Regions from separate parts of the Homo sapiens genome. Here all the other regions are linked to region 3. The links are contacts of gene promoters, found by promoter capture Hi-C in human tissues and cell types (Jung and others, 2019). All regions are on one chromosome and are shown on one strand. Each heading gives the region's core, a stretch centred on a gene start or on the middle of the fragment in contact. The rest is flanking DNA. Distances are from core to core; before and after follow the strand shown. Region 1 holds the start of CTSS (cathepsin S). Region 2 holds the start of SETDB1 (SET domain bifurcated histone lysine methyltransferase 1). Region 3 holds the start of ECM1 (extracellular matrix protein 1). Region 4 overlaps CTXND2 (cortexin domain containing 2).

Region 1 (5,070 bases), core at 2,571-5,070, 260 kb before region 3:
CATCGTTAGCGACATTTGGCTTAATGGAGAAAAACCTGTCCCCCTCCACTTTAAAACCTCTAATTTGTTTTCATTAACAATCTTATTGGCGTAGGCTTGTTGTTGTTATTCTGCAATTTTACAGGATAAATTAAACAAGTACTTGAGTTGATATTTTAGAGAACCCAGATTTTTTAAGCATGTTTGAAAAGAAGTGCAGATATAAGATTGATGGGGTGAGTAAACCCTATAGTCTTGAATTTGAATTTGAAGTATCAGTGTCAGCTTGTGATTTATTTAATTTTTTTAAAAAAGATATTTCTTAGCTCTAGCTACTGAAAAGGCTTAGCAACAATGGTCAATCTGCTATCCCAAACACTGCTAGTTCCTAGATTATGGTATTTAAACATTGTTTCCACTAAAAGGAACCAGAGCTCCTTGGAGAAATGGCTGATTCCAGGTCTGGGGCAGGAATTGTTCAAGACAAACCTGCAATAGCCTGTCATATTAGAAAGAAAGGAAGCTTTTAAAGAGTACTAATATTATGCCAAATATACAAACTCTGTCTGCACCAAAGAGCCAGTTTGAATAAATTCCTACAGACCAAAAATGAGACAATATGAGTATCAATAAGGATAAAACTGGAATGGATTGAAACACATCAAATATGTTTAAATCCATGAATTCATAATGATATAAACATAACTCAATGGTTTCACAATATATGGAGCTTATTTAAATCTCAATTCAAACAAACTATTAAAAAATGTATAAGACAGTCCAGAAAATGTGAACATTGATAGGATGTCTGATGACATTAAGAAATTATTGTCTTAATTTCTTATGACAATAAAGTGGCTCACACCTGTAAACCCAGTACTTAGGGAGGCTGAGGTGGGCAGATTACCTATGGTCAGGAGTTCGAGACAAGCCTGGCCAATGTGGTGAAACCCCATCTCTACTAAAAATACAAAAATTAGCTGGGTGTGATGGCACATGCCTGTAATCCCAGCCACTTGGGAGGCTGAGGCAGGAGAATCGCTTGAACTCGGCAGGCAGAGATTGCAGTGAGCTGGGATCACACCACTGCACTCCAGCCTGGGCAAGTGAGTGAGACTCTGTCTCAGAAAAAAAAAAAAAAGAAAATTATTGTTCATTTATTTTAGATGTGATGATGGTATTGTGGTATTATATTTGTTTAATAGTCTCTGTCTTTTAAAGACACACACAGGGACATTTACGTATGAAATGACAGAATGTCTAGAATTTATTTAATATAATTCAGGTAGTGAGAGTGGGAATATAAATAAAATAAGATTGGCCATGTACTGATCATTGTTGAAACAAGACAATGGTTTCACGGCAGCTCATTTTACTACTATTTTTACTTTTACATGTGTTTTAAATTTTCCATAAGCAGTATCTTTTTAAAAAAAACTGTATGGCTACAAACACAAACATGTCTACTACAGCTGAGATGAATCAACATTATAATGATGTTACTTCTCCCTAAATTTATGCATATATTCAAATAAAAACTCTAATAGCCAGATGTGGGGGCTCATGCCTGTAATCCCAGCACTTCAGGAGGCCAAGGTGGGCAGATTGCTTGAGCCCAGGAGTTTGAGGCCAGCCTGGGCAACATGGTGAAACCCCTTATCTACAAAAAACAAAAAACAAAATCAGCCAGGCATGGTGGTGTGCACCTGTAGTCCCAGCCACTCCAGAGGCTGAGGCGGGAGGATCACTTGAGCCCAGGAGGTCAAGGCTGCAGTGAGCCATGATTGCATCACTGCACTCCAGCCTGGGTGACAGAATGAAACCCTGTCTCCAAAAGAAAAAAGCAAAAAACTCCAACAGAGTTTTTCAGGGAACTTGATAAACTGATTCAAAAAATTCATATAAAGAAGAGTTAACAAGTACAAAATACAAAGACAATGTTTAAAAAGAAGAACAAAGATAGGGTGGCCTAGATGACTTGCCTTACCATACGTGGAGACATATTACAAAGCTGTTTTAATTAAAACTGTGTGATACTGAAGTAGCAAAAGATAAAAAGAACAGCTTCATGAGCTCAGAAACTGACCTATCTATGTATGAGAATTTGGTGTACAATAGAGGTAGAATCAAAATTGGAAAACAAAGAAAATAAGCTCCCTACGTCATACCATACACAAAACTAAATTCCAGGTGAATTAAACACCTAAAAGCAGTAGCCATAGAAAAGATAAATAAAACACTCTCTGAAAGTATAAAAATAAGATGAGTGTATCTTTATTACATTTGGATGAGGAAAATTTTCTTATACAAAAACAGTATAGATTGATTATACGGAAAAGCTGAATAAAATGTTCTACCTCAACATAAAAAAATTTCATATAGAAAAACTCACTATAAACAAGACTAAAGGACAAGTGGAATTTCATAGGCTTATGCAAAGGAAGAAAAAATAAAATAAAAGACAAGTGGAAGACTAAGGGAGGATGTTTTTAAGGGTATATAACTGTCAAAGATTAGAAGCCAGAATATATTTTTAAAACACATACACCTTGGCCGGGCACGGTGGCTCACACCTGTAATCCCAGCACTTTGGGAGGCTGAGGCGGGTGGATCACGAGGTGAAGAGTTCAAGACCAGCCTGGCCAAGATGGTGAAACCCTGTCTCTACTAAAAATACAAAAATTAGCTGGACATGCTGGCAGGTGCCTGTAATCCCAGCTACTTGGGAGTCTGAGGCAGAGAATCGCTTGAACCTGGGAGGTGGATGTTGCAGTGAGCCAAGATCGCACCAATGCACTCCAGCATGGGAGACAAAGCACGACTCCGTCTCGGAAAACACACAACACACACACACACACACACCTCCCACAAATCACTAAGAAAATGCAACAATACAATAGAAAAATGAGCAAAAAAGATGAACAGGAAATTCACAGAAAATTCAAACGGTCAATAAATGTGTGAAAAGATCCTCAACCTCATTAGTAATTAGGAAAATGCAAATTTAAAAGATGATAGTTCGTCTTGCTCCCACCCCACCCAGGTAATCATTCTCAATTGGATATATTTGAGTGTATCCTTTTTTCCATGAATATACTAACACATACACACACACACACACACACACACGCATATTACTAAACTATACATATAGTATATATTAATAAAGACATTTTGAGTTTGATGAACGAAGGAATGGCTGAGTGAGAACCAGACAATATCAGATCATGAATGAGTTGTGTTAAAAGCAGTAAGACAGGTTTTCCTAGGAAATCATACAAGGAGCTGGGATTTGGGGAGCTTTATCTAAATCTCTTTATAACTAAATGTTTTCCATGTAAAAGTTGGTGTTTTTAAAATTCAATTTAATTTTTTTTTTGAGATAGGGTCTTGATATGTCATCCAGGCTGAAACACAGTGGCATAATCATGGCTCACTGCAGCCTTGTCCTCCTAGACTCAAGCAATTCTCCCACCTCACCCTCCCCCTCAGCTGGGACTACAAGCATGCACCACCATGCCCAGCTAATTAAAAAAAATTTTTTTGCAGAGACAGGGTCTCACTATATTGCCTAGGCTGGTCTTGAACTCCTGGCCTCAAGTGATCCTCCCGCCTCAGCCTCCCAAAGTGCTGGGATTATAGGCATGAGCCACTGGGCTCAGACAAGGGCTCTTCTTGATGGCTTACTGTATCCACTTTGTCCCCAAGACCATAGGGAAATGACTAGAGGTGACTGTACTAGCTAGATTTTAAATGAAACTGAAATGAAAGTTCACTTCCTCATTTTGAGTACCTCATGTGACAAGTTCCAATTTCTTTTCAAGTCAATTGAACTGAAATCTCCTTGTTGCTTTGAAATCTTAGAAGAGAGCCCACTAATTCAAGGACTCTTACTGTGGGAGCAACTGCTGGTTCTATCACGTATGTACTCTTTGTTCTTTTTCTCCCATTTGGTCTTCAAACACTCTGTGTTTGTAACTTGTTCTGCCTGCTAGGTTTTAAATCTTTGGTTTCAGGAAGTAAACTAAAAAATCGTGTCGTTCAATTTGCCTCTTCTCTATTTTTAAAAAGTTAATGTCTGCTTGAGCATCTAAGCATCTAAGTTGAGACTGAAACATGGCTTTCTTTGGAATATAATTTAAAGGCTTACATGTTTAAAATTCCAGATGTTTTCAATTAAAAAGAAATGGAAAAGAAAGTAGAATCCAGTTTGAGGGAGCTAGTCGCTGAATTTCTGTTGATGTCTCTTGAATTAAATACAGAAGTGGCATTTTAAAGAGTAGTTAATTGCCTCATTTGAAACAGATGTCTGATCATTAAAAAAAAAAAAACGTAAAAAGGAAAATTACCTACCTAAAGATGTGAAAGCAATAGATGAGAATTGTCTTTTAACTATCTGTAAAGACTGTGGATATTTAAACAGGTCAGTTAAGAAGAGCCCATGTATTCAAAAATTCAGGAGATAAACTGATTTTTCAGAGGTTTGTCTCTCTTAAGGATGATTTTTTTTTTTTTTTGAGAGAGAGAGAAAGAGATTTCCTTTGATTAGATTTGTTGGCAAATCCTGGAAAGTCCCTGTTTTCTAACCCTCTAGATGTGTTTGGTTTACCAGATATTGGGAAATTCCTGGAAATCACTTTTTAAAGTGCTACTAAGCATTGGAAGTAGTATTTCTGACATAAATCTGCAGCTGTTCCCTGTGACTATATATCCCAGGAATTTTCCTGTATAATTCTGTTTATAATAGTCTGTCCCTTTGATAGACTTTGCATTGTTATTTTCTCTTATGAAAACATGTGGTCACAACATATGCAGCTAATAGCAACACTTCCTATGTTACCTTTCCTTACACAGAATGAAACGGCTGGTTTGTGTGCTCTTGGTGTGCTCCTCTGCAGTGGCACAGTTGCATAAAGATCCTACCCTGGATCACCACTGGCATCTCTGGAAGAAAACCTATGGCAAACAATACAAGGAAAAGGTAGATTGGATTGCCACTCGAGCGATATGCTTTTAAAGGAGTACTGTTTTCTACCTCTTAAAATTGTGTTCTTACAGGCAGTGTTTTCAGTAAATATTTAAGCTGGGTGT
Region 2 (5,184 bases), core at 1,130-3,629, 420 kb before region 3:
GGGAGGGATAGTATTAGGAGATATACCTAATGTAAGTGACACCAACATGGCACATGTATACATATGTAATAAACCTGCACGTTGTGCACATATACCCTAGAACTTAAAGTATAATAAATTTAAAAACAATGTATTCTAAGTGACAACTAGAGCACCAGAAACAAATCTTTTGGGGGTATGGGAACTTACTAATGCTTCAGAGTTACGTAAGACAGAAATTCTTTACAATCCTCACTCCCTGGATGATCTTACTAGGGAAATGAAGCAATTGTTCTAAGATAGAGCACAGGAGGAAGAAGGGGAAAGGACTTAAGACTTGGACTCCCTTACTGCTGATCATGTATTAGCTGCTGACAGATGAAAATTATATTTACGGCTGATTGTAAGGTCAGATTTTTGACCATAAACTTTGAGGAAGAGTAAGGTTCTAAACATCTGTACTTCATAAAGTATAAAATGTTTGGTACACAGCCTGGCCAACATGGTGAAACCCTGTCTCTACTAAAAATATAAAAAATTAGCTGGGTGTGGTGGCGGATGCCTATAATTCCAGCTACTCGGGAGGGGGAGGTGGGAGAATCACTTGAACCCGAGAGGTGGAGGTTGCAGTGAGCCAGGATCACTCCACTGCACTCTAGCTTGGGTGACAGAGCGAGACTCCGTCTCAAAACATAAAATAAAATGCTTGGTTCAATGTCATGAACAATTATTCTCTAAAAACATCTCCCAATGGAGAGATTTCCTTCTATTTTCCATGGAGTTCTCACCTGGATGCATCATCAAAGAGTTGGTCAACGTGAGCCACCTCAGATTCTTTCTGTATTACCCATGTCTCTAACTCTGCTAGCTGCTTCTTGCGTTGCTGTACACAATCCATCTTCTCCAGTTCCTCATCGATGAAATGCCGAAGTTCCTCCATAGAGATACCCAGTTCCTCAACCACTGCCTGTTGCAGCTCTGCAATCTCTTCAGACTCCACTGTAGCTGTTGCTGCATCCAAACCAATGCACCCAGGAAGGGAAGACATGCTTTTGTCCTCTGCATGGAACAGAAAACAAATTAAATTGGAGTCCTTATAACTACAATCAATCAATAGAGAATTTCAGTTCCCTAATAAAACTAATTCCTACTCTGCTGCCTGTTATTCTATTCAAATATTCCATGTTCTCCCTCCCTATTCTCCAGAATCTGATGCTGAGATTTTTAAGAGTTCTTATCTTCTGCTGTACGCTAACACTCCTGAAAAAGATTTAAGAGTTTGAGACGGCATGGAGAACATTCATTAAGCAGTAGAGAGCTACTGAAAATAATGTTTTGGGCTGGCACAGTGGCTTACACCTGTAATCTCAGCACTTTTAGAGGCCGAGGCAGGAGGGTCGCTTGAGGGCAGGAGTTCAAGACCAGCCTGGGCAACATGGCAAGACTCGTCTTTACAAAAAAATACAAAAATTAGCCACGTGTGGTGGTGCACGCCTTTAGTTCCAGCTACTCAGGAGGCTGAAGTGGGAGGATCGCTTGAGCCCAGGAGTAGCTGCTGTAGTGAGCTATGTTCGCGCCATGCATTCCAGCTTGGGTGACAAAGTGAGACCCTGTCTCAAAACAAACCGAACTTTAAAAATAATCTTTTGGGATACTGAAGAGAACCAATCTATAAGATATTTTTGTGGTCTATATGTGTTCCTTAACTAATGTGATAAATCTTTGTATGCTATGCCTAATTTAAACAAAACCCCACCTGGGGATGGAGTTGATTTGGAACTCACTAACTCAGTGTTTTCTCTTTCATTACTTGTTCCCCTTATATTACTTTGCTTCCATGTGGAATTTTACTTTTTAAAAAGTCTATGATATTCAAACACACGAAAGCTTGCAGCAAAAAGGTTTCCCCCAAAGTACAGAGAAGTAAAGCAACCTGGGAATAAAACGTGGGTACCTAATATCCACAATCCAAATACTTCACACATTCGTGTGAACTGCTTTTTTAATCAAACGGTTAAAGAAAATCTGATTTTCAGCGCCTCCATTTTCCTCTGCCCACACACCAGCCCACCCCCGTGCTACCCATTCTAGGGGTGCGTCCTACCCATTCGCAAACCCAGTTCAGCCCCGCCCCCGTTCGCCTCTGGGGAAGACTTCCTTCCCACCCTCGCCCGACCCCCTCCCACAAACAAAACGTCCCAGATAAGCCTTTGGTCACCAAATAACTCAACAGTATTCCCCGCACCTCCCGTCTTCCAGCTTCAAGGGCTCTTTTTCACCAACCAGACCCCAGACTCACAACTCAGGGGTCGGCCTCGACGGAAAAGAGCGAAAGCGAAGGGATAAGGGAGGAGGGGGAGGGGAGGAAGCGTGAAAGAGGGAAGGGGAAGCAAAAGAAACGCCCGGAAGCAAACCTTTAGTGCCGTTCCGGTCACCGCGACGGTAGCCTGACGGGGTCAAATCCAAAGCCGCGGGGCGCCCCTCAGAGGCGACGAAAACTAAGGTAACTACGCATGCGTTAAGGCAGAGCCTTCCAGGGGCACACGTGAGAAGAGACTGGCAGGGCAGAGTAGGCGTGGCCAGTATATTACCGAGTCTCCGCCGCTCCTACCACCCTCGACTAGTGGCCCCATTACTATATTCATTGTGTAAAGACTTAGGGAAACGCTCATAGGTTCAGAGCTTTATTCTCTCAGTTTTACTTGAGTTTGTTTTGTTACATAAGTGATACAAATTGTAAAGGCTATCAAGATGTAATAAGAAAAACGTGATAATATTCTCTCTTGCCCCATCACCACTCCGCTCCTTTCAGGTAATACAGCTTCATTTTCCAGTCTTGTATGTACGAGTTTCTGTATTTGGATTTTTGTTGTTTTCATTTAACATGTGGACATTACCTGAAGCCAATAAAAAAGGTAAAACTTGTATTTTTGGCCGGGCGCGGTAGCTCACGCCTGTAATCCCAGCACTTTGGGAGTCAGAGGCGGGCGGATCACGAGGTCAGGAGATGGAGATCATCCTGGCTAACACGGTGAAACCCCGTCTGTACTAAAAATGTTAGCCGGGCGTGGTGGCGGGCGCCTGTAGTCCCAGCTACTCGGGAGGCTGAGGCAGGAGAATGGCGTGAACCCGGGAGGCGGTGCTTGCGGTGAGCGGAGATCGCGCCACTGCACTCCAGCCTGGGCGACAGAGCGAGACTCCGTCTCAAAAAAACCAAAAAAAACAAAAAAACAAAAAACCAATAACTTGTATTTTTGACACCTGAATAGTTTAGATTGTTTAGATTGTTTTCCGTTCTCAGCCCCGACAAATAGCGCAACAATAAAAATAAACATCCTTTTGAAGTAGTACTTTTATTTCTGTAGAAAAGATTCCCCAGGCCGGGCGCTTTGTGTCCGAGGCGGGAGGATTGCTAGAGCCCAGGAGTTCCAGACCAGCCTGGGCAACACGGCGAAACGCCATCTCGACTAAAAATACAAGGTAAAAAAAAAAAAAAAAAAGCCAGGCGTGGTAGTTCGCGTCTGTGGTCCCAGCAACTCCGCAGCTGAGGCGGGGGGAGGATCGCTTGAGCCCCGGTGGCAGAGGCTTCAGTGAGAGGAGATCGCGCCACTGCACTCCAGCCTAAGTGACCGAGCGAGACTCCGTCTCAAAAACAAAACAAAACAAAAAACAAAAAGAAAAGATTTCCCAAAATGGAATTTGAGTAAAATAATATGTGCTTTTTTCCTTTTTTTTTTTTTTTTTTTTTTTTTTGAGAAGGCGTTTCGTTCTATCGCCCAGGCTGGAGTGCAATGGCGCGATCTTGGCTCACTGCAACCTCCACCTCCCGGGTTCAAGCGATTCTCCTGGCTCGTCCTTCCGAGTAGCTGGGACTACAGGCGCGTGCCACCACGCCCGCCTAATTTTTTGTATTTTTAGTAGAGACGGGGTTTCACCGTGTTAGCCAGGCTGGCCTCGTCACACCTCGGCCTCCCAAAGTGCTGGGATTACATACAGGTGTGAGCCACTGCGCCGAGCCTTCCTTTTTTTGTTTGTTTGTTTGTTTTTGAGACTGAGTTTCGCTCTTGTCACCCAAGCTGGAGTGCAATGGTGCGATCTCGGCTCACTGCAACCTCCACCTCCCGGGTTCAAGCAGTTCTCCTGCCTCAGCCTCCCGAGTAGCTGGGATTACAAGCCCCTGCCACCACACCCGGCTAGTTTTTGTATTTTTGGTGGAGACGAGGTTTCGCCATGTTGGCCAGGCTGGTCTCAAACTCCTGACCTCAAGTGATCCACCCGCCTCGCCTCCCAAAGTGCTAGGATTACTTACAGGCGTGAGCCACTGCTCCCGGCCCTTTCTTTCTTTTTCTTTTCTTTTCTTTTTTTTTTTCTGAGACAGAGTCTCGCTCTGTCGCCCAGGCTGGACTGCAGTGGCACGATTTCGGCTCACTGCAACCTCCACCTCCTGGGTTCAAGCGATTCTCCTGCCTCAGCCTCCTGAGTAGTTGGGACTACAGGTGCGTGCCGCCACGCCTGGCTAATTTTTTGTATTTTTAGTAGAGACGGGGTTTCACTGTGTTAGCCAGGATGGTCTCAATTTCCTGACCTTGTGATCTGCTCACCTTGGCCTCCCAAAGTGTTGGGATTACAGGCATGAGCCACCTCGCCAGGCCTTTTTTTTCCTTTTTTTTTTTGAGACGGAGTCTCGCTCTGTAGCCCAGGCTGGACTGCAGTGGCGCGATATCGACTCACGCAAGCTCCGCCTCCCGGGTTCCGCCTCCTGGGCCTCCCAAAGTGCTGGGATTGGGATTACAGGCGTGAGCCACCGCAACCGGCCTTTTTTTTTTTTTTTTTTTTTTTTTTTTTTTTTTTTGAGACGGAGTTTCATTCTCGTTGCCCAGGCTGGAGTGCAATGGCTGGATCTCGGCTCACCACAGCCTACCTACGCCTCTGGGTTCTCCTGCAACAGCCTCCCGAGTAGCTGGGACTATAGGTGCCCACCACCACGCCCAGCTAATTTTTATATTTTTAGTAGAGACGGGGTTTCATCATGTTAGCGAGGCTGGTCTCGAACTCCTGACCTCAGGTGATCCACCCACCACCTCAGGTGATCCACCCACCACCTCAAGTGATCAACCTGCCCTGGACTCCCAAAGTGCTGGTTTTATAGCGGTGAGCCACTGCACCCGGCCATTCTCCTGCCTCAGCCTCCCGAGTAGCTGGGAC
Region 3 (5,499 bases), core at 55-2,554:
CCTCTGTATTCACCTGCCCCGTGTCCCCTAATCCTCTCCCAGCCCCAACACACCTAGACATGACCAGCTGGGTTCTGAGAAAGCCTGTGGCGGTCTGATAGCTCCACCTCTACTGGCTCAGAGGTTGGGCCTAAAGGGAGTATGGCATACGGGATTGGGGAGGGAGGCCCTCATTTCCTCTGCCAGTCTTTCCCTCAGGGCTGTGGGTTGTCCTCCCCAGTCTCTGCTGGGATGCGTCTCTAGCTTTCAGAGGAAAAAGTCTGGACCTTGAGCTGGTTGGAGCCTACCCAATCCACCTCCTCCACCCACCCTCCTACTCCAGGCCCTTGAAACATCTTTAGGCCTTTGGTTAAGGAGGCTTCCTGAAGGTTGAGTGCTTCCCCTTCAGCCAGTCTCAGCTCCGCCTTAGTTTAGGTCTCAATTTAGGGCCTGGGGGACTGGGACAGGCACAGGGAAGGGTCACTTGTAGGTGATCTGCAGACACAAAAGACCAGGAGCTGGGAAGAATGATGGCATGGGGCTTCACAGAGAAGTGGACAGATTTGCTGACATCCTCAGCAGCTTCCTGCAGGAGTGCCCTGGGTGGTTTTTTTCCTTTTCTTTTCCTTTTTTTCTTAGTTTCCACCCATAGCATTGAGGGGTTCCTGTTTTGTTCAGGCATCAAAGCAGATAAAGAATGTGTTTGTGCTGGATGGAGGGTGGGTCTGTGGATGGACACCCCTCAACTCCTCTAATCAGACAGGGAGTCAGTCGAGGCTTGCTGGGCCAGCAATCCGGTTTTGAGCAGCCTGGGGGCCCCTTTTCCCTCCCTTGCCTCTCCCACCAGCCACCTCCCTACATCCTCATCAGCAGGAGACCCTCACTCTGTGAACCCACCCCCCACTCAGTTGTCTATTTGACTGGGATTCTGTGTTTCTTGGCAGCAGTTTCTAGGAACCCCTCTCCTTCTGTGCCCCTGCTCTCTGCCTCCTTGGTTAAAGGCTCCACTGGCCTAGGCCCACTTTGGGCCTGCTCAGAAAAGGAAAGCCAAACGGAGAATCACTCTGCTAGTGATGAGCCGTCTGGGATGCCTGGACCCAGACCCCTGCCATGCAAGCCCAGACCCCCTCCTAAGTGCTGATCCCCCAACTCACCTCCCTCAGAGGCAGCAGAAGCAACAGCCAAATAGGTCAAGACCAAGGCTGCTCTGGCTGTGGTCCCCATCCTGGGGCAACTGACCACTGGACACTCAGAGGTGGGTCCTCTCAGGCAAGTCTGGATGTGAAGGGCCGGCCACTGAAGCTTGTCTGGTGGCTGTTACGGTTGTGAGCTTCAGGACCAGCTCTTCTTTTATAATTGTCTGGTGTGATCTCCCGCCCTCCTCAGCTTCCTGCCATGACTCAGTCCCAGCTGCTCCTCCTCTGGAAGCCACTCCTCCCAAAGTCACCCTGAAGCCTCCTCAGAGGATTGAGAAGAATGGGACTGATTAGAGGAGAACATTCTTATGACCTTCAAGAGAAACTGATTCAGAGAATCCAGGAGCAAGAGGTGTTTGAGCCCCTAGTTTGTGCCTCAGTTTCTCCATCTACAGGCTGCCTTCTGTGGAGAGGGGATCTGCCAACTCATGAACTGGGGTTGGGGAAACAGGGCACAAAGGAGTTTACAGCGGGGAGCAGGAAACCTATCCAAGGGATCTCCCCTACCAGTGTGAGGTCTGGACTGTCCCTTTTCAATTTCCCTAACTCTCTGGGACAAAAAAGAGGGAGACAAAGTGGAACATCCTTTTATCCCACCTCTCCAGAGTCAGAGATGAAGACATATGACCAGCAGCTTCCAGTTTGTATTTATTTATTTATTTATTTATTTAGAGACAGAGTCTCGCTCTGTCGCCTAGGGGGGTGCAGTGGCGCAATCTCAGCTCACTGCAACCTCTACCTCCCGGGTTCAAGCGATTCTCCTGCCTCAGCCTCCTGAGTAGCTGGGATTACAGGCGTGTGCCACCATGCCCGGCTAATTTTTTGTATTTTTAGTAGAGACAGGGTTTCACCGTGTTAGCCAGGGTGGTCTTGATCTCCTGACCTCATGATCCGTCCGCCTCAGCCTCCCAGAGTGCTGGGATTACAGGCATGAGCCACTGCGCCTGGCCCAATTTATTTTTTTTTGTAGTTTCATTCTCCTCACATCCAAACAGCTACAGCTTCCCTCCTTTTGTGGGGTCCCCAAACCAAGTCTCTTTTCAGGAGAGCAGACATGTGCCTCCACACAGTTCTGAAGTTCTGGGGGCTCCACATTGTCAGCTGGGTTGGGGTCTCCCATGTGAGGGAGGCTGATGGCACTCGCAGGTTTTTGCCTCATCTATGTACAAAGGCTCAGAAAATTTCTTCGGCATTTGGGACCCTCGTGTTCTGTAGCTCCACCAGTCGCTGCACAGCCTCAGGCAAGTCCCACTCCCCAAGGCGACGATTATCTCGAGTCCGAATGTTCACTGTTCTCTTACTTTGCTCTTTCTGGCCAACCACTGCAGGTAGAGGAAGTTTGGGAACCTCAGGGCAAATTCACCCACATGGAACAGTTTCTTTTGCTCTGCAGAAACTTGAGAGACCTAAATCTTTAGGAAGGGTGGGAGCAGAGCCCAGATATGGTTCACAGAAAGGAAGTATTCAGCTGTGTCTGCTAATACTAAATGACCAGTCCTGCTCATCCTGAGGAGACAAGGAAGTGCTTCAGTCCCCGCAGGCCTTATCGCTTCTGGTCAAGAGCCCCAGGGTCAGAGACATAAGAGTCAAGCAGAGAAAGACAAACACTGAGAACCCCACAGAGAGAAACTGTGTGTGTGTGTGTGTGTGTGTGTGTGTGTGTCAGAGACATTAGAGTCAAGCAGAGAAAGACAAACAATGAGAACCCCACAGAGAGAAACTGTGTGTGTGTGTGTGTGTGTGTGTGTGTGCGCGCGCGTGTCTGAAGGGGGTATTAGAGCAAGTGGAAGGTGGCAGGAGTGGTGTGGCCTTCACACTGCCCCGCCTCCCCCCAACCACTCTGACCCTTAGAACAGTTTCCTCTCATCAGTCCCACTCTGGCTCTTGGTGTCTGTTAGGGCTGGATTCACAGAGTGAGGGGCCTCTGCTGAGGAGGATGTATGCAGGGGCTGACTGGGCGGTAAGGGAGGGAAAGGGGCCATGTACAAGTCCCTGGGATTGCAGCACAGCTTGCTCTGGGTGCTTGTAGGGAGAGTGGGGTGTGCAAAACTCAAGAATCAGGTAATCTGGCTGAGGAGTTTCTGCTCCTCACCTTTGAGATAGAGCCCTGAACCCTGGAAAATGAAAAAGGGAGCATGGCAGTGCCAGAATTTTCTCCCTAAGGCCTTTCTCCTCATCCCTTAGGGCTGATTCCATCTAGGTCTAAAATAAACAAGGGTAATTAACGCTGTATTAACCCTCCCGTCCCTTTCTCTCTGATGCTCCCTTGGTTAATTAACCTAACAGACACCAACAGCTAGAGTGGAGTTAAAAAGAGGAAAACTATTTTGAGTGTCAGAAGTGGTTATGGGGAGGGCAGGGCAATGTGAAGGAACACAGGGCCCAAATGAGTCAGGTGTCCTGAATCCTGGCTCCTACCTGCTCAGGTAATGAGCCCCAATTAACCCAAATATGCATTACCAGACTTGGTAAACTTAACAGCAAGAATGCAGACGGCAGGTGGGAGAACATTGGCTCTGAGGTTCAGCTTACCAAACTGAAAATTGTAGTGGGCAAGCTGGGCCCGGCGGATTCTCCGGCTGAGGGTCAGTCCAGAGTCTGCATCCAGGTCACTGACCAGTCCTGCAGCCCGCAGGCTCTGCTGTGCCTGCAACAGAGGTTTGGTGACAGGAAGTTAATTTACTGGAAAGTTAAGGAGCTAGAACAGTCTGATGCTCTTTTCCCTCAATGCCCCCATCTGTTCCTCCTTTCCCTGCCTCGGGGCTCTCCACTTCTTACCAGCAACCTCTCCTCATTTCATCTCCACATTGAGGCCTCCTCCCCATTCATCCCCAACCCCACAATCTTTCTGCCTCCTACTGGAGATGACCCCCCAGTTATTCCGTGGACTTTGCCTTCTAGCCACTGCTCTACCCAACCAGCTGTTTGACTCTGGTACCATCCATATCCTCAATTCTCTCTAGAAAGGAAAAATAAAACTGTGTACTCAATCCCAGTTTTGTGCCAAGTGCTCTTTTGGTGGCTTTCAACATTTGTTAATTTGTTTAATTTTCATACATCTCTACAAGGTAGGCATTAGTCACATTTTTTAGATACAGGATTTCCAGCATCTAGGACAGCAGCCACTCGAGCCCAGTCTTGTGGCTGTGAGGGCTGTGCTCCTTCCTCTACCACCCCTGCAGCCTCTTCCTGCCCACTGCAGGGCACCAGACTCTCTACTGGACCTGCTTCTGCCCCCTCCCTTACCTCAACTCCTTACCTCTTTGGCGTATTCCTCTTGCTCACTCCCCACAGGGATGACCACCACCTGGAACGGGGACAGCCACAGTGGCCTGGTAGGGAAAGAACAGGTGATGGCAAATTAGTCACTCTGGCTCTGGCCAGAAGTGTGCTTGTATGGAGCAGACTTGAGAAGGAAAGAGGCTGGCATATGAAGGGGGACAGGATCTGGAGCATAACTATCCGGTTTGGGGCCAGAACAGAAATCCAGGTCAGAGGTCTCACCATTTCCCCCCGCAGCTTTCTGCCAGCACTCCCAACAGTCTTTCCACAGAACCGAGCACTGCTCGGTGAATGAGGACTGGACGCTCCAGGGCACCCGCCTGCCTTGAAAGGAAAAAGGGGGGGGTGGATGGAATGGTGGAAGTATCACGAATTGTGTACCCAAGATCACCTTCCAGTTTTTAAGAAATATTCAGCTCTGGCAGGAGAGGGTGTGGAGGGTTTAGTTTTTAGGGCCAAAGGCAGAAGGACTTATTCCATGCACTGTCAAGGGAAAAGAGGATAGGGCAAGGTTTTATACCCCTTATACTGGAGGTCAAATCTCAGGGGCAGTTGGAAGTCAAGCTGAATTGTCCCACACTGATGTGGCCGGCCCAGGGCATCGTGGAGGTGCACGTCAATCTACAGGAAACAGATGGGAAGGCACGAGATAAGCCAGAAGCACTATCCAGAACCACTATCCTCCATTACCTGTGCCATCCCACCCTTTAACCTACCCTCATCCCGGGCTACTACCTTCATCATGTCACCTAGCTCTATCATACGCTACCCCTCCAGTTCACTCTACTCAACTCACTCTGGCAGTAGTTCTCAGCAGCTCTCTCCATCTAATAATGGTGTTATAATATTACCTGATGTCCACACCCTGGCCTCTCAATTCCTTGAGCTCCTCATCTCAGAGATCTTCACCACCACCCATCTATGGCTACACCCTTTATCCTGTCATCTCCCCCAATGGCTGTACCTCTGAAACTGTCCATCAGACACCCTACTCTGATTACTGTCTCTTGGTCAGCCAGCTCTGAGAATTATTCCTTTTTTT
Region 4 (5,549 bases), core at 2,835-5,334, 400 kb before region 3:
AAGGAATTCACCCACAGCAAATTAGTCCCCTTCTACCAGAGAGTTCTGCCCACTTAAGAACAGCAGATTTTATAAAACTTCACACACTAAAACAATCTGGTTACACTCTTCTTATAGGACATTTGGTTTCTGCTGAGCCTACATTTGCATAACTAAAGGGATCATTCAAGTCTGCCACCTCTAGGTGAGCTTCTAGTTTCAGGTGGACCTTACCAAGCATGATGACATTATGTTACATTACATCATAAAATTATGGCCCACTGTCTCATCCTAAGGACCTTAGGCACTGAAGAATTAAAATCTATGGCCTTATTCTAGCCAATAAATTCAACCTTTATCTCACTTTAGTAGCCATTTCCCTGAACAGGAACAATACAAACTGGCTTGTGTTTCATCTCACTGTGGAATGCAAGAGTGAGAAGGCTGAGAAACAGGGAGGTGAAATAATATAAAGTGTGTATAACAGATTTCAAATCTCTTGCTTGGGGGAGTCTACCAGGTTTTATTATACTTCAGCTCAGAGATGGTTCTGTGGTTGTGGAGCTGGCCTTGTAGGGATTCTTCACCAGCTTGGCACACCGAAAAATCATCACTATTAGGAACAGAAACAGAAGAACAACAAAGGCAATGGCAAAGCCTTTGTCCACATCAACACCACTGGACAGGCTTGAATCTTCCATGGGGACTTGCACCTCGTTACTGTTGTCCAGCTCCAGCTAATTCCTCAGGTATAGCTTCAGATTTGTCATATTCCTAGACAAAGGAGGATAAAACAGGCTTATCGGTTTGTGTGTGTATGTGTTTTCTTAATAACACTGTGAAAAACCAAAAAGGGACCAAGGGTTGAAAAAATATCAGTAAGATTTACTTAAGAAGCAGTTACAAAACTGATAAAGTTAATATAGATGACTGACAAGATACACACATACACACAAGTATAAAATATCCGAAGAATTACTCCAAGGCAGAACGTGAGCAAATGTATATAACCTAGGAATCAGTTGGGCCTGCCTTGTCCCCTAAGATCCAGGTAAAACTGTCTTAAACATCTGAATTCTGTGTTAAGTCAAAATCCTCCTCTAAGATTACTTCAAATTCCAAGAGTACTTATTGTACCTAGTTGTTGTATAACTCACTGGCTATGAACATGAAATTGTTTTATTTTTTCTGATCACTACATTTAATTGTGCTGTCATTCTTACATCTTCATGAAAAATCAGGTATATCCCAGAAGTGATCAATTTCAATTATTAAAACTTACAGGCCGGGCATGGTGGCTCACGCCTGTAATCCCAGCACTTTGTGAGGACAAGGCAGGTAGATCACCAGAAGTCAGGAGTTCGAGAACAGCCTGGACAACATGGTGAAACCCCGTCTCTACTAAAAATACAAAAATTAGCCAGGTGTGATGGCGGGCACCTGTAATCCCAACTACTTGGGAGGCTGAGGCAGAATTGCTTGAACTCAGGAAGCGGAGTTTGCAGTAAGCCGAGACCGAGTCATTGCACTCCAGCCTGCGCAACAGAGCGAGACCCCACCTCAAAAAAAAAAAATAAATTTACATAAGGAAAACAGGAAAAAAAAACCCAAAACCTTACTCCATCAAGAAAATTCTGAAAAAGAAAAACAAAGTAAGAGGACTCATACTTCCCAATTTCAAAAACTCACTAAAAGCTACAGTAATCAAAACTATGGTACTGGTACAAAGACAGACATACAAATCAATGGAATAGAATTGAGAGTCCAGGGCCAGGCACGGTGGCTCACGCCTGTAATCCCAGCACTTTGGGAGGCCGAGGCAGGCGGATCACTTGAGGTCAGGAGTTCAACACCAGCCTGGCCAACATAATGAAACCCTGTCTCGACCAAAAAAAAAAAATACAAAAATTATGGCCAGGCACGATGGCTCATGCCTGTAAGCCCAGCACTTTGGGAGGCCGAGGCAGGCGGATTATGAGGTCAGGAGATCGAGACCATCCTGGCTAACACGGTAAAACCCCGTCTCTACTAAAAATACAAAAAATTAGCTGGGCGTGGTGGTGGGCACCTGTAGTACCAGCTACTCCGGAGGCTGAGGCAGGAGAATGGTATGAACCCAGGTGGCAGAGCTTGCGGTGAGCCGAGATCACGCCACTGCACTCCAGCCTGGGTGACAGAGCGAGACTCTGTCTCAAAAAATAAAAAAAAATACAAAAATTAGCCAGGCATGGTGATGCATGCCTGTAGCCCCAGCTACTTGGGAGGCTGAGGCAGGAGAATCACTTGAAACCAGGAGGCAAAGGTTGCAGTGAGCCGAGAGCATGCTACTGCACTCGAGCCTGGGCGACAGAGTGAGACTCTGTCTCAAAAAAAAAAAAAAAAAAATTGAGAGTCCAGAAATAAACCCATGTATCTATGACCAAGTAATTTTAAACTAGGGTACCAAGAAAATTCGGTGAGGAAAGAAAACAAATGGTGCTGGGACAACTGGATAGCCACATGCAAAAGAATTAAGTTAGACCCTTATTTTGAAATGAACCCAATAGTCCCATAGTTTTTTTTGTTTCAACAGAAATTGACCCTTCTTGCTGGGCGTGGTGGCTCACGCCTATAATACCAGCATTTTGGGAGGCCGAGGAGGGCGGATCACCTGAGGTCAGGAGTTTGAGACCAGCCTGGCCAACATGGCGAAACCCCATGTCTACTAAAAATATAAAAATTAGCTGGGTGTGGTAGCACACACCTGTAATCCCAGCTACTCAGGAGACTGAGGCAGGAAAATTGCTTGAACCTGGGAGGCAGAGGTTGCAGTGAGCTGAGATCATGCCACTGCACTCCAGCCTGGGTGACAGATGGAGACCCGTCTCAAAAAAAAAAAAAAAGAAAAAAAAAAAACAGAAAAAAGAAAAAGAAATTGACCTTCTGGTCTTAAAGCTTAAAACTTACATTTGTTTTATGTTGAGTTCCTTCTTCAGGAAAGGGCCACCAGGCCTCTCAAAAAAAGTATCAAGGAACTGAAACTCAACCAGATCATCCCATCCTGACAATGAAGTGCAAGACCCCTCATTGGTCACAAGTGCTTTCTTGGCCTCCTGAGTTCCTGTTTTCCTACACATTGTTACATTTCTTCCTTGCTATATAAACCTCTAATTTTAGTTGGTCAGGGAGATGGATTTGTGACTGAGTTCCGGTTTCCTCTGCTGCAGCACCTGAGTAAAGCCTTCTTCTTTGGCAATACCTGTCATCTCAGGGGCAGGTATTGCTCATCTTTCTGTGTGGTGAGCAGCAGGACCTAGACCGAACTCCTGGTGTTTTGGTAACAATTTCACACCACATACAAAGATAAACTTAAAATGGATCAAAGACCTAAATGTAAGGATTCTTAGATATGACAGCAAAATCACGAGCAACAAAAAAGAGAGAAACTGGACTTCATCAAAATTTAAAACTTTTTTCTTTGAGACAGGGTCTCACTTTGTCACCCAGGCTGGAGTGCTATGGTGCCGTCTGGGGTCACTGCAGCCTCGACCTCCCAGGCTAAATTGATCCTCCCATCTCAACCTTCCAAGTAGCTGGGACTACAGGTGCACGTCATCATGCCCGGCTAATTGTTTTTTGTTTGTTTGTTTTGGTAGAGATGGAGTTTCACCATGTTGCCCAGGCTGGTCTCAAACTCCTGGGCTCAAGAGATCTGCCCTCCTTAGCCTCCCAAAGTGTTAGGATTGTATGAGCTACTGTGCCTGGTCAACACTTTTGTACTTTTTTTTTTTTTTTTTTTGAGAAGGAGTCTTGCTCTGTCGCCCAGGCTGGAGGGCAATGGCGTGATCTCGGCTCACTGCAACCTCTGCCTCCCAGGTTCAAGCGATTCTCCTGCCTCACCCTCCCGAGTAGCTGGGATTATAGGCGCCCCCACCATGCCCGGCTACGTTTTGTATTTTTAGTAGAGTCGGGTTTCACCATGTTGGCCAGGCTGGGCTCAAACTCCTGACCTCAGGTGATCTGCCCCCCTTGGCCTCCCAAAGTGCTGGGATTACAGGCGTGACCCACTGCGCCCAGCCAACTTTTGTACTTTAAGAAGCTTATTATCAAGAAAATGGGCTGGGCACGGTGGCTTATGCCTGACCAGCACTTTGGGAGGATGAGGTGGGAGGATCACTTGAGGTCAGGAGTTTGAGACCAGCCTGGGTAGTAAGGAGATACCTTGTTTCTTAATTTTTTTTTTTTTAATTAGCTAGGTGTGTGGCATATGTGTGTGGTCCTAGCTACTGGAGAGGCTGAGGCAGAAGGATCCTTTGAGCCCAGGAGTTCAGGGTTATAGTGAGCTATGATCGCACCACTGTACTCCAGCCTGGGTGACGGAGAGAGACCTGATAACCAAAGTTACAACGAAACAATGAAAAGACAACTCAATTAAAAATTAGGCAAAGGATATGAATAGAAATTTCTTTTTCTGCATAAGGAAGATATGCAAATGGCCAATAAACACATTTTTTAAATGGTCAACGTAATTAGTCATCAGGGAAATGGAAATCAAAACTTTGAGATACCACTTCACACCCACTAGGATGACTAGAATCAAGTCAGATTAAGTGTTGACAAAGGTAGAAAGTAATTGAAACCCTCATTGACGGTTGGTGGGAATGTAAAGTGGCAAAGTTACTTTGGAAAACAGTCTGGAAGTTCCTAAAATTATGAAACATAAGAGTTACTGGCCAGGTATGGTGGCTCACGCCTATAATCCCAGCACTTTGGGCAGCCAAGGTGGGTGGAGGATCACTTTAGTCCAGGAGTTCAAGACCAGCCTGGGCAACATGGCAAACCTTCCTCTCTACAGAAAATACAAAAATTAGTTAGATGTGATGGCGCACACCTGTAATCCCAGCTACTTGGGGGGCAGAGGCGGGAGGATCACCTGAGCCTGGGAGGCTGCAGTGAGCTTTGATCATGCCACCATACTCCAGCCTGAGTGACAGAGTGAGACACTGTCTAAAAAAAAAAAAAAAAGCTGGCTGGGCACGGTGGCTCACGCCTGTAATCCCAGCACTTTGGGAGGCCAAGGCGGGTGGATCACAAGGTTAGGAGATCAAGACCATCCTGGCTAACACGGTGAAACCCCATCTCTACTAAAAATACAAAAAATTAGCCGGGCGTGGTGGCAGGTGCCTGTAGTCCCAGCTACTCGGGAGGCTGAGGCAGGAGAATGGCGTGAACCTGGGAGGCGGAGCTTGCGGTGAGCCAAGATTGCGCCACTGCACTCCAGCCTGGGTGAGAGTGCGAGACTCCGTCTCAAAAAAAAAAAAAAAAAAAAAAAGCCACCATATGACGCAGCAATTCCACTCCTATGGCTGTCCCCAGGAGAAATGAAAACATGTGACCACACAAAAACTTATACAAGAATGTTTGTAGCAGCATTATTCATCATAGCCAAAAGGTAGAAACAACTCAAATGTCCATCAACTTATAAATGGATAAGCAAAGTGTGGTATGTCTACACAATAGACTATTATTGGCCATAAAAAGGAAGTACATACTACTTGGATGAAACTTAAAGCATTAAGCTGAGTGAAAGA

What was found. Contacts are between HindIII fragments. The study calls those that stand out against the background at their distance.
Region 1: a contact is called between the fragment with the promoter of CTSS here and the fragment with the promoter of ECM1 in region 3, in 1 of the 25 tissues and cell types used here (thymus).
Region 2: the fragment with the promoter of SETDB1 here is called in contact with the fragment with the promoter of ECM1 in region 3 in 1 of the 25 tissues and cell types used here (mesendoderm cells).
Region 4: a contact is called between a fragment that was not itself captured here and the fragment with the promoter of ECM1 in region 3, in 2 of the 25 tissues and cell types used here (IMR-90 fibroblasts and heart left ventricle).

The regions. Positions count from the first base shown.
Region 1 is chr1:150,764,528-150,769,597 of GRCh38, reverse strand. It overlaps CTSS (cathepsin S), which reads left to right and starts at 3,820. Exons shown (of 8, transcript NM_004079.5): 1 at 3,820-3,900; 2 at 4,834-4,960. The coding sequence starts at 4,835. RefSeq lists cis regulatory regions at 3,874, 3,877 and enhancers at 3,802-3,946, 3,805-3,949, 4,880-4,929. The HindIII fragment of the contact is 11,511 bases long and covers 1-5,070 here.
Region 2 is chr1:150,923,558-150,928,741 of GRCh38, reverse strand. It overlaps SETDB1 (SET domain bifurcated histone lysine methyltransferase 1), which reads right to left and starts at 2,379. Exons shown (of 22, transcript NM_001366418.1): 1 at 2,225-2,379; 2 at 768-1,038. The coding sequence starts at 1,027. It overlaps LOC107985204 (a long non-coding RNA gene), which reads left to right and starts at 2,401. Exons shown (of 3, transcript XR_001738231.2): 1 at 2,401-2,482. The HindIII fragment of the contact is 16,745 bases long and covers 58-5,184 here.
Region 3 is chr1:150,503,914-150,509,412 of GRCh38, reverse strand. It overlaps ECM1 (extracellular matrix protein 1), which reads right to left and starts at 1,304. Exons shown (of 10, transcript NM_004425.4): 1 at 1,134-1,304. The coding sequence starts at 1,203. It overlaps TARS2 (threonyl-tRNA synthetase 2, mitochondrial), which reads right to left. Exons shown (of 18, transcript NM_025150.5): 14 at 4,978-5,078; 15 at 4,680-4,781; 16 at 4,435-4,507; 17 at 3,708-3,822; 18 at 1,811-2,497. The coding sequence ends at 2,349. The HindIII fragment of the contact is 11,585 bases long and covers 1-5,499 here.
Region 4 is chr1:150,907,446-150,912,994 of GRCh38, reverse strand. It overlaps CTXND2 (cortexin domain containing 2), which reads right to left. Exons shown (of 2, transcript NM_001384189.2): 2 at 1-753. The coding sequence starts at 680. The coding sequence ends at 513. The region is part of intron 1 of LOC107985204 (a long non-coding RNA gene); the gene reads left to right. Among named protein-coding and RNA genes, the nearest start is that of SETDB1, 16 kb to the left of the region's middle. The HindIII fragment of the contact is 6,057 bases long and covers 1,056-5,549 here.